2 separate regions of the Homo sapiens genome follow, and region 2 is linked to region 1. The links are contacts of gene promoters, found by promoter capture Hi-C in blood cells and fetal thymus (Javierre and others, 2016). All regions are on one chromosome and are shown on one strand. The core of a region is centred on a gene start or on the middle of the fragment in contact, and the rest is flanking DNA. Distances in the headings are between cores, read along the strand shown.

Region 1 (3,334 bases), core at 149-2,648:
AATAATACATGACCACTTCCTCATTTCTGGGGAAGGAAAGGAGACTAGAGCAGCTGGTGTGCTCACCCCTCCCTAGTCACCTCCATTAACCACAGACTATGTAGCGCTGGCCCTAGCCTCTGGCAGAGCCTGTTCCTGGCCGAACTGTGGATACAGCTGGAGGGTCAGGAACTGTTACCTTCTTTCCCCTTGGCATTAATAAATTTAAGTTAATCCTTTTCCACTCTTCCTTTGTTCTATGTTTGCTCAAACCCAGTGTATTGATTTTGAGTTGTTAATGGTGGGTAATTTCAGCACCACTTTCCTTAAGTTCAATACTGTTTATACTAAATTGCCTTACAGCAGACAAGTCATCTGTACTCCTCTAAAGGGTATATACAAATGTAGACTGTCCAGCTGGCTAAAGGCAAGGGAATTATTTAAGGTAAATGGTAGGTAGGCAAACTTCTGGATTCAAACTCCAAGTTTTTAGAAGAGACAGGGAGCAAGAATGTCATCAGGAACCATTTATGTTTTGTTTCTAATTAACTGAAGTAACGGTTATTTGGGGGAAGCCATAGAATAGTGCCAGTTTTCATGAACTGCAGCAAGGGGACTGGCCGACTGGAAGGATGCTGCCGCGACTTGGGCTCAGGGGGTGGGGTTGTGGGAAGGAACTAAAAGTTTGTAGAGCCCCTCAAGTCATCTGTTTCCTCTGACTTACACCATCCCACTGCTCAGTTAAAGCTTGCGCATATTATTTTCCTTTCGAAAACTAGGTTCCTCCCCCAGCTTGGGTCGTAGTTTATCACGAGGCTGGGCTCCATTTCCCTGGTATGAGTCCTCTGTCCCGGCGGAGCGCTTGACCCAGCATCCTGGCACCGAGGATCCCTCGAGTCCTGGAGCAGTCAAGGGCTTTTGCATTCCCATCATTTCTAGGAGGGGCGCATGCCCAGTTACACTGTAGTAGTCCCACTTTTATCCCACGCTAGATCCCGCTCTTTCCGCTCCCCCTTCCTTTGCAGATGGGGTGGAGCTATAACACCCGCGCGCGGCAGCTCTTGTGGGCGGGGCAGGCGCCGCCTCCTTCGCTTCGTCTAGGGACTGCCGCCTCGGCAAAAAGTCTGAGGTCCTGGAAACCGCCGCTGGGCTGAGAGTTAATAAGGGCGGAGGCAGACCGTCACGTGACGACGTCGATTCGCGTGCGGCAGTGGCGAAGTTGACAAACCCCGCGAAAATCGACTCTTTGCATCGCACATTTTGTTGATTTTCCCTCGTTTTTCTTTCTCTCTTTCCCCCGTCCATCCGAAAGAGGGTTGGAAAAAAACAAAACAAACAAACAAACAAAAAAAAAACCTAACGCTGTTGGGACCCGGAAGCGGAAAGGGCATCTTTGAGGTCGATACTTCCGGGTCATTGGGAGAGTGCGGGATTCCTGGGCCGAGAGCGGGTGGCTGAGCCGGGACCTCGCGTGATTCTCGGAACCCGAGGAGAAGCGGCGTCCGGGGCTATGGCTGTGACTCTGGACAAAGACGCTTATTATCGGCGAGTGAAGAGACTGTACAGCAATTGGCGGGTGAGGAAGATCCTGTAATTTTTCCTAGGGAGCCCCCTTAGCCATCCCATAATAACCCTGTTTCTCGGCGCCCTTTTTTCTCTTTCGGTCAGGAATTCCCGGGTTCTGTGCCTCACCCTTTTCGTTGCTCCCGAATCATTCACCGGAGGCGGCCACGAACGCTGCCCCTTAACAGGGAATCCCCCGCATTCACCCTGTCCTGCGGCCATCACCATCTTCCCCGCGTGCCAGCCTTGGTCATGCATAGCAGCACCTCTCGCAGTCTCTTCCCGCCCTAGAAGAGGCAACATCCTTCCCTCCTACTCCGTGGTCACGTCTTGCTGCCCTCCCCTGCCGTGTTCTCACGCACTCGCTCTGTCCCTCCAGAACCACAATATTCCACCCCTGGTCCCGCCAGGATTATAACCGTCTTCGTAAAGGAGAGATGGAAGGGCAAGGAGGATGTCAATCGGGCTTTTAGCGTTTATCGTTTGCGGGGCTTTTGCTGGAGTTAAAAAAAGAAATACTGCTCACGCGCAACCGCCTCATGTTCTAGGCCCTGCTGTGGGTTACAGAGAGGGACCTAACGCTGAAAGCCTGCAGGCATTAGTAATAACAAAACAAAACAAAACGATGCCTAAAACCTTATTAGTTCCTTGGTAGCGTATCCGGGGCACGTGTTCATTAAAAGAGCTGTGGCAGTTCCCAGTTTTTTAAAGATTCGGCAGTTTTGCTGCTCTAAAAACGTCCACAGTTAAAACTTATTTTTATGATGTTAACTTACTAATTGAGCAAACATTTGGTTGCATTCTGTGATGCAGTCTGAGTTGGCTAGCTTAAGTCTTGCCCCTGAACCCTGTCATCAAGGGAAGATACAGCTAATAAAGATTTTTTTTTAACCTGAAAAACGTTTTGAGAAAAATGATCAGCTCTCATTTCAGCATTGTAAATTATCTTTCAAACTGGTCATCTACTAAAACCAAGCCATTAAAATTGGTCGTTTCCTTGCCATTCATATTAAAGCTGTCTGTGCATGTTTCATCTTTTGGGGCTAAATACATTAGATAATTGAAAATAAAATTGATTCTCTTGCATTTTATGAAAAGGAAAAATAAGAACTAAATGCTAGATGAATACTGAACATTTTATTTTTTTTAATTTTTTGATTAATTTCTACCAAATGATTTTTTGCAGCTTCTCTCAGTGTCATATTATTCAAACATAATCGATGTTAGAAAAACATTTTAAAACCTTGATACTTTCTAATGATCAGTAAGTACTAAAAATCCGAAGCCCTCTCTTGTACCCATAAACCCTGAAACTGTGAACCTTTGGTATGAAAATTGTTTCTAGTCCCAGTGATTCAGATTCATCAAATAATTTCATTCTCTCTATACCATTCATGAAAACTAATCTATAGCTCTCACTTCCTCTACATGACAAATTAACTGTGGCCTGAAGACAGGTTGGCAAACCTAATAAAACTGATAGTCTTTAAATCCATGAAAGTTATTTCCCACCCACCATTTTTTTTTGTATCTCAAAAATCTTTAAAGTTTATCTTGGCCCTCTTACTACCTTAATGACATCATCTTGGGAGAATGTTAGATATTGATAAGACACTGATGGTGTAAAGTTATGAGCCAAATCTATGTAAAAATGTACCAGTTAACAAAACCTGTGGCTATTATGAAAAACTTACTTGAATAAGACTTTCTGCTTTTGTGTTAATGTGTCCAGAACCCACCTGTAGAAGTTCTTTGTGTATGCAGTCTTTTCACCCTACAGTGCTTTCATTCT
Region 2 (3,284 bases), core at 746-3,245, 1.1 Mb after region 1:
ATGTTCCAAGGCGTGGCAGGAAATCACATGGCCAGGATGCTGAGACTGCTAACATGCTATCCTTAAGTCTCTTTGCCTTTTCTTTAAAGCCACTAGTTCCCCTCCCATGATAACCTATTAATCCATGAATAGATTAATTTATTTATGAGGGCAGAACCCTCATGATCCAGTCACCTCTTGAAGGCCCCACTTCTAATGAGGATTAAGTTTCAGCCACTTTAGGGATTAAGTTTCAACATGAATTTTGTAAAAGGTGAAAGATTTATGCGATATGAAGAGAAACTAGAGTGACAACATGAATTTTGAAGGGGACAGTCAAACCATAGCAACTGGGATCTGAATCCTGACTTTACCACTTGCTAAATAGACAAATTCCTTAATCTCTATAACTCTGTTTCCTTTTTTTTTTTTTTTTTTTTGGTGAAATAGTTATAATGAAAGTGCTTACATTCTTGGGTTAATGTGAAGATTAAACAAGGTAATGAATATTACATTTCTTGAATATTTATAGTAAACATTCAAGAAATGTTTTGACTCTAGAAGTTACAATAAATCAATTATGAAATAACAAATTAGCATTTGATGCTAAATGTTGGGAAATTTGGGGCAGGTAAACTCTAAAGTGGATTGGAATAGGTAATTTCTAGTAAGGTGGAAGCAGGGTGGATAGGATGAAATGATTAAAAAATGAGAACTACTATGAGTTAGAGTTGTATCATTTCTCCATATAACTTGAATCTTTATACTTCAAACATTTGCACATTACATGTATATTTGTACATATAACACATACTTGTATATATATTCCCTATTACTATAATAGTATTTATTAAGAATAATGATGAATATTGTGCCGGGGAGTCCTCTAATTATGGCTTAAAAAGAAATCTTTCAGCTTGGGCAACATGGCGAAACCCCATCTCTACAAAAAAATACAAAAATTAGCTGGGTGTGATGGTGCACGCCTGTAGTCCCAGCTACTTACTGAGGCAGGAGATCGCTTGAACCTGGGAGGTCAAGGCTACAGTGAGTCGAGATTTCACCACTGCACTCCAGCCTGGGACACGAAGTGAGACCCTGTTTCAAAAAAAAAAAAAATTTAACAGAGTAAGAACCTATACTTTAACTGGAGGGCGATGTGAGGAGTCAAAATAATTGATTAATCAATTATGTCCTCAGCATTGAAAGTCATTGTTTTTGTCTGGAGATGTGTAAAACGTACACTTTGATCTCCAGTTGTTTATAGTCTACTTGGGAATATAAATCTAACAAGAAATATGTAATAACAATAATAACAGCTAACATTGTTGAGTACTGTGTACCGGGCATTGTACTGAGTACATTATATAAATTATTTTACTTAATCCTCATAACCATCAGAGTAGGAAGATTTCATCTTTTTTCCCTCTTTTTATAGTTGGAACTGAGGCTTAGATGTGTGCAAATAAGTGGCAAGGTTCAGATTCAAAATCAGCTAAATTTTATTTGAAGCCTAAAACACTTAACCCACCTACCTTTTATCTACTAAGCCTGTTAGTTCAAAGATTACCTGAAGGTAAATTTTATCAGGCCAGCTTTGGATCTGGGGGGAAAAAATGAAGGTAAATTTTAACTTGAATCGATCTAGACTGTTTATAATGGAATCTGTTGCCTAGCATAAGTTAAGCATGTTGAGGTCACAAAGGATAAGAAATTACCCTTAAGGGATGAAAATTCTTTAGAATAGAATGCAGTAGGCCCACGCAAACAACAACGTGTATAAATAGCTTAAATTAGCCTGTTTTTGCCTAAGTACATTAACTCAAAAGGAAACTCGGTTTAAGAAGTTCACTCCAAAAATAGTGCAAGAAGCATCACTGGTCCATAAAGAGGGGTGGAGTGGGTTACGTCATTTCAGCACCTTTTAAGGTAAAGGAGGAGGGAATCCTCTTGAACTCATTAGCCAATCAGGTTCTGAAGACACTTCCCAAGGCGACTTCCTGTCTCTCCACTTTCTTTCCCTCTCCGTTTTGGTGGGCTGGTGAGTGTGCGCTTAATTTTGCTCTCTAATTGTTTTGAATTTCTCTTCCATTTGAGTTATATACCCAGGTGGCAGGCCTTTATTTCAAGTCGGCATAGGAGTGTGTGTGAGTCGCAAGGAGATTAATTTCGGCTGTGTGGAGGTTGGGAGAAGGCAGTGAAATGCTCTTCCTGGCTTGTTTCCACGTGGGCCTCTGCAGTACTGGGTTTGCCTTCCGTCTCCGAGTCCTGGTGACCCAGGAACAATAGACTGTGCTTCATGTGCACAGTGCGTGTGTTCTTGGAAAACGCCGGCTTCATTTTGCTTGGCGGGAAAGATATTATCATCCTAATGCTGTTTTGATTTATATCTCCCTGGGTGAGGTCAGATTTCGGGAGAAGGCGTTCAGCTCAGTAGAGTTTAATTCTCCGGTGAGTGTCTAGAGGGCCCAGGTCCTTACTGGGTTTGTGGAAGCTGCAGCGTACCTTGTCTTTCTCCTGGCCTTCGCTCAGATCATTTCGGCTTTCTTGGTGAACCTGGGCAGCAAACTCTGAAGACAGATAAGCCTTAAAAGGAGCTCCTAATTTTTAATGTTGCCACTGTGGTGATTGTGTCCTTAAAAGCTATGGAAAAAGATTAGGGACCTTAGTTCAGGGCAAGCCTCTAGATTTAAATTCCAGCGCCACAGTTTACAGCTCTGGTGACCTTGGGAGAAGCAGTGAGCCATTCCGAGGCTTAGCTTTCCAAGATCAGATAAAATATATAAAAACTAGGCTCTAGTTGGTGTGTAATAAATGTTAGGTACCTTTAGAAGTAAGCAGTACTTATTTATTTACAGCAAGTATTTTGGATATCTGTTTTCTCATAAAAAGTTTGCTTAGTGACCTTCAATGTCATTTCACTGAATTCCTTTCTTTTGGTACATGTTAATTTTAATGTGATGTTTGTGTTGGATATTCTTATAGGCAGAAAGTGTGAGAAAGACAAATAATAAACCAGTTAATCGAATGTAGTAATAGGTATTTGTAGGCCTCCCATAATTTTTATAATTCTCAAGCATTGTTAAAATTTATTTTTTGGGGCATGGCGGCGCATGCCTGTAATCCCAGCTACTCGGGAGGCTGAGGCAGGAGAATCGCTTGAACCCGGGAGGTGGAGGTTGCGGTGAGCCGAGATCGCGCCATTGCACTCCAGCCTGGGCAACAAGAGCGAAACTCTGTCTCAAAAAAAAAAAAAAAAAAAAAAAAATATATATATATATATATATATGTATACACATCATATA

Evidence for each region. Contacts are between HindIII fragments. The CHiCAGO score rates a contact against its expected background, and 5 or more counts as called.
Region 2: the fragment with the promoter of CCNB1IP1 here is called in contact with the fragment with the promoter of SUPT16H in region 1 in 1 of 17 cell types (monocytes); the score reaches 7.4 in monocytes.

The regions. Positions count from the first base shown.
Region 1 is chr14:21,382,083-21,385,416 of GRCh38, reverse strand. It overlaps SUPT16H (SPT16 homolog, facilitates chromatin remodeling subunit), which reads left to right and starts at 1,398. Exons shown (of 26, transcript NM_007192.4): 1 at 1,398-1,555. The coding sequence starts at 1,490. CHD8 (chromodomain helicase DNA binding protein 8) reads left to right here. Exons shown (of 38, transcript NM_001170629.2): 38 at 1-218. It overlaps LOC107984643 (a long non-coding RNA gene), which reads right to left and starts at 1,144. Exons shown (of 2, transcript XR_001750627.2): 1 at 704-1,144. The HindIII fragment of the contact is 3,293 bases long and covers 729-3,334 here.
Region 2 is chr14:20,331,990-20,335,273 of GRCh38, reverse strand. It overlaps CCNB1IP1 (cyclin B1 interacting protein 1), which reads left to right and starts at 1,995. Exons shown (of 7, transcript NM_021178.5): 1 at 1,995-2,020. RefSeq lists an enhancer at 1,916-2,225. The HindIII fragment of the contact is 11,464 bases long and covers 1-3,284 here.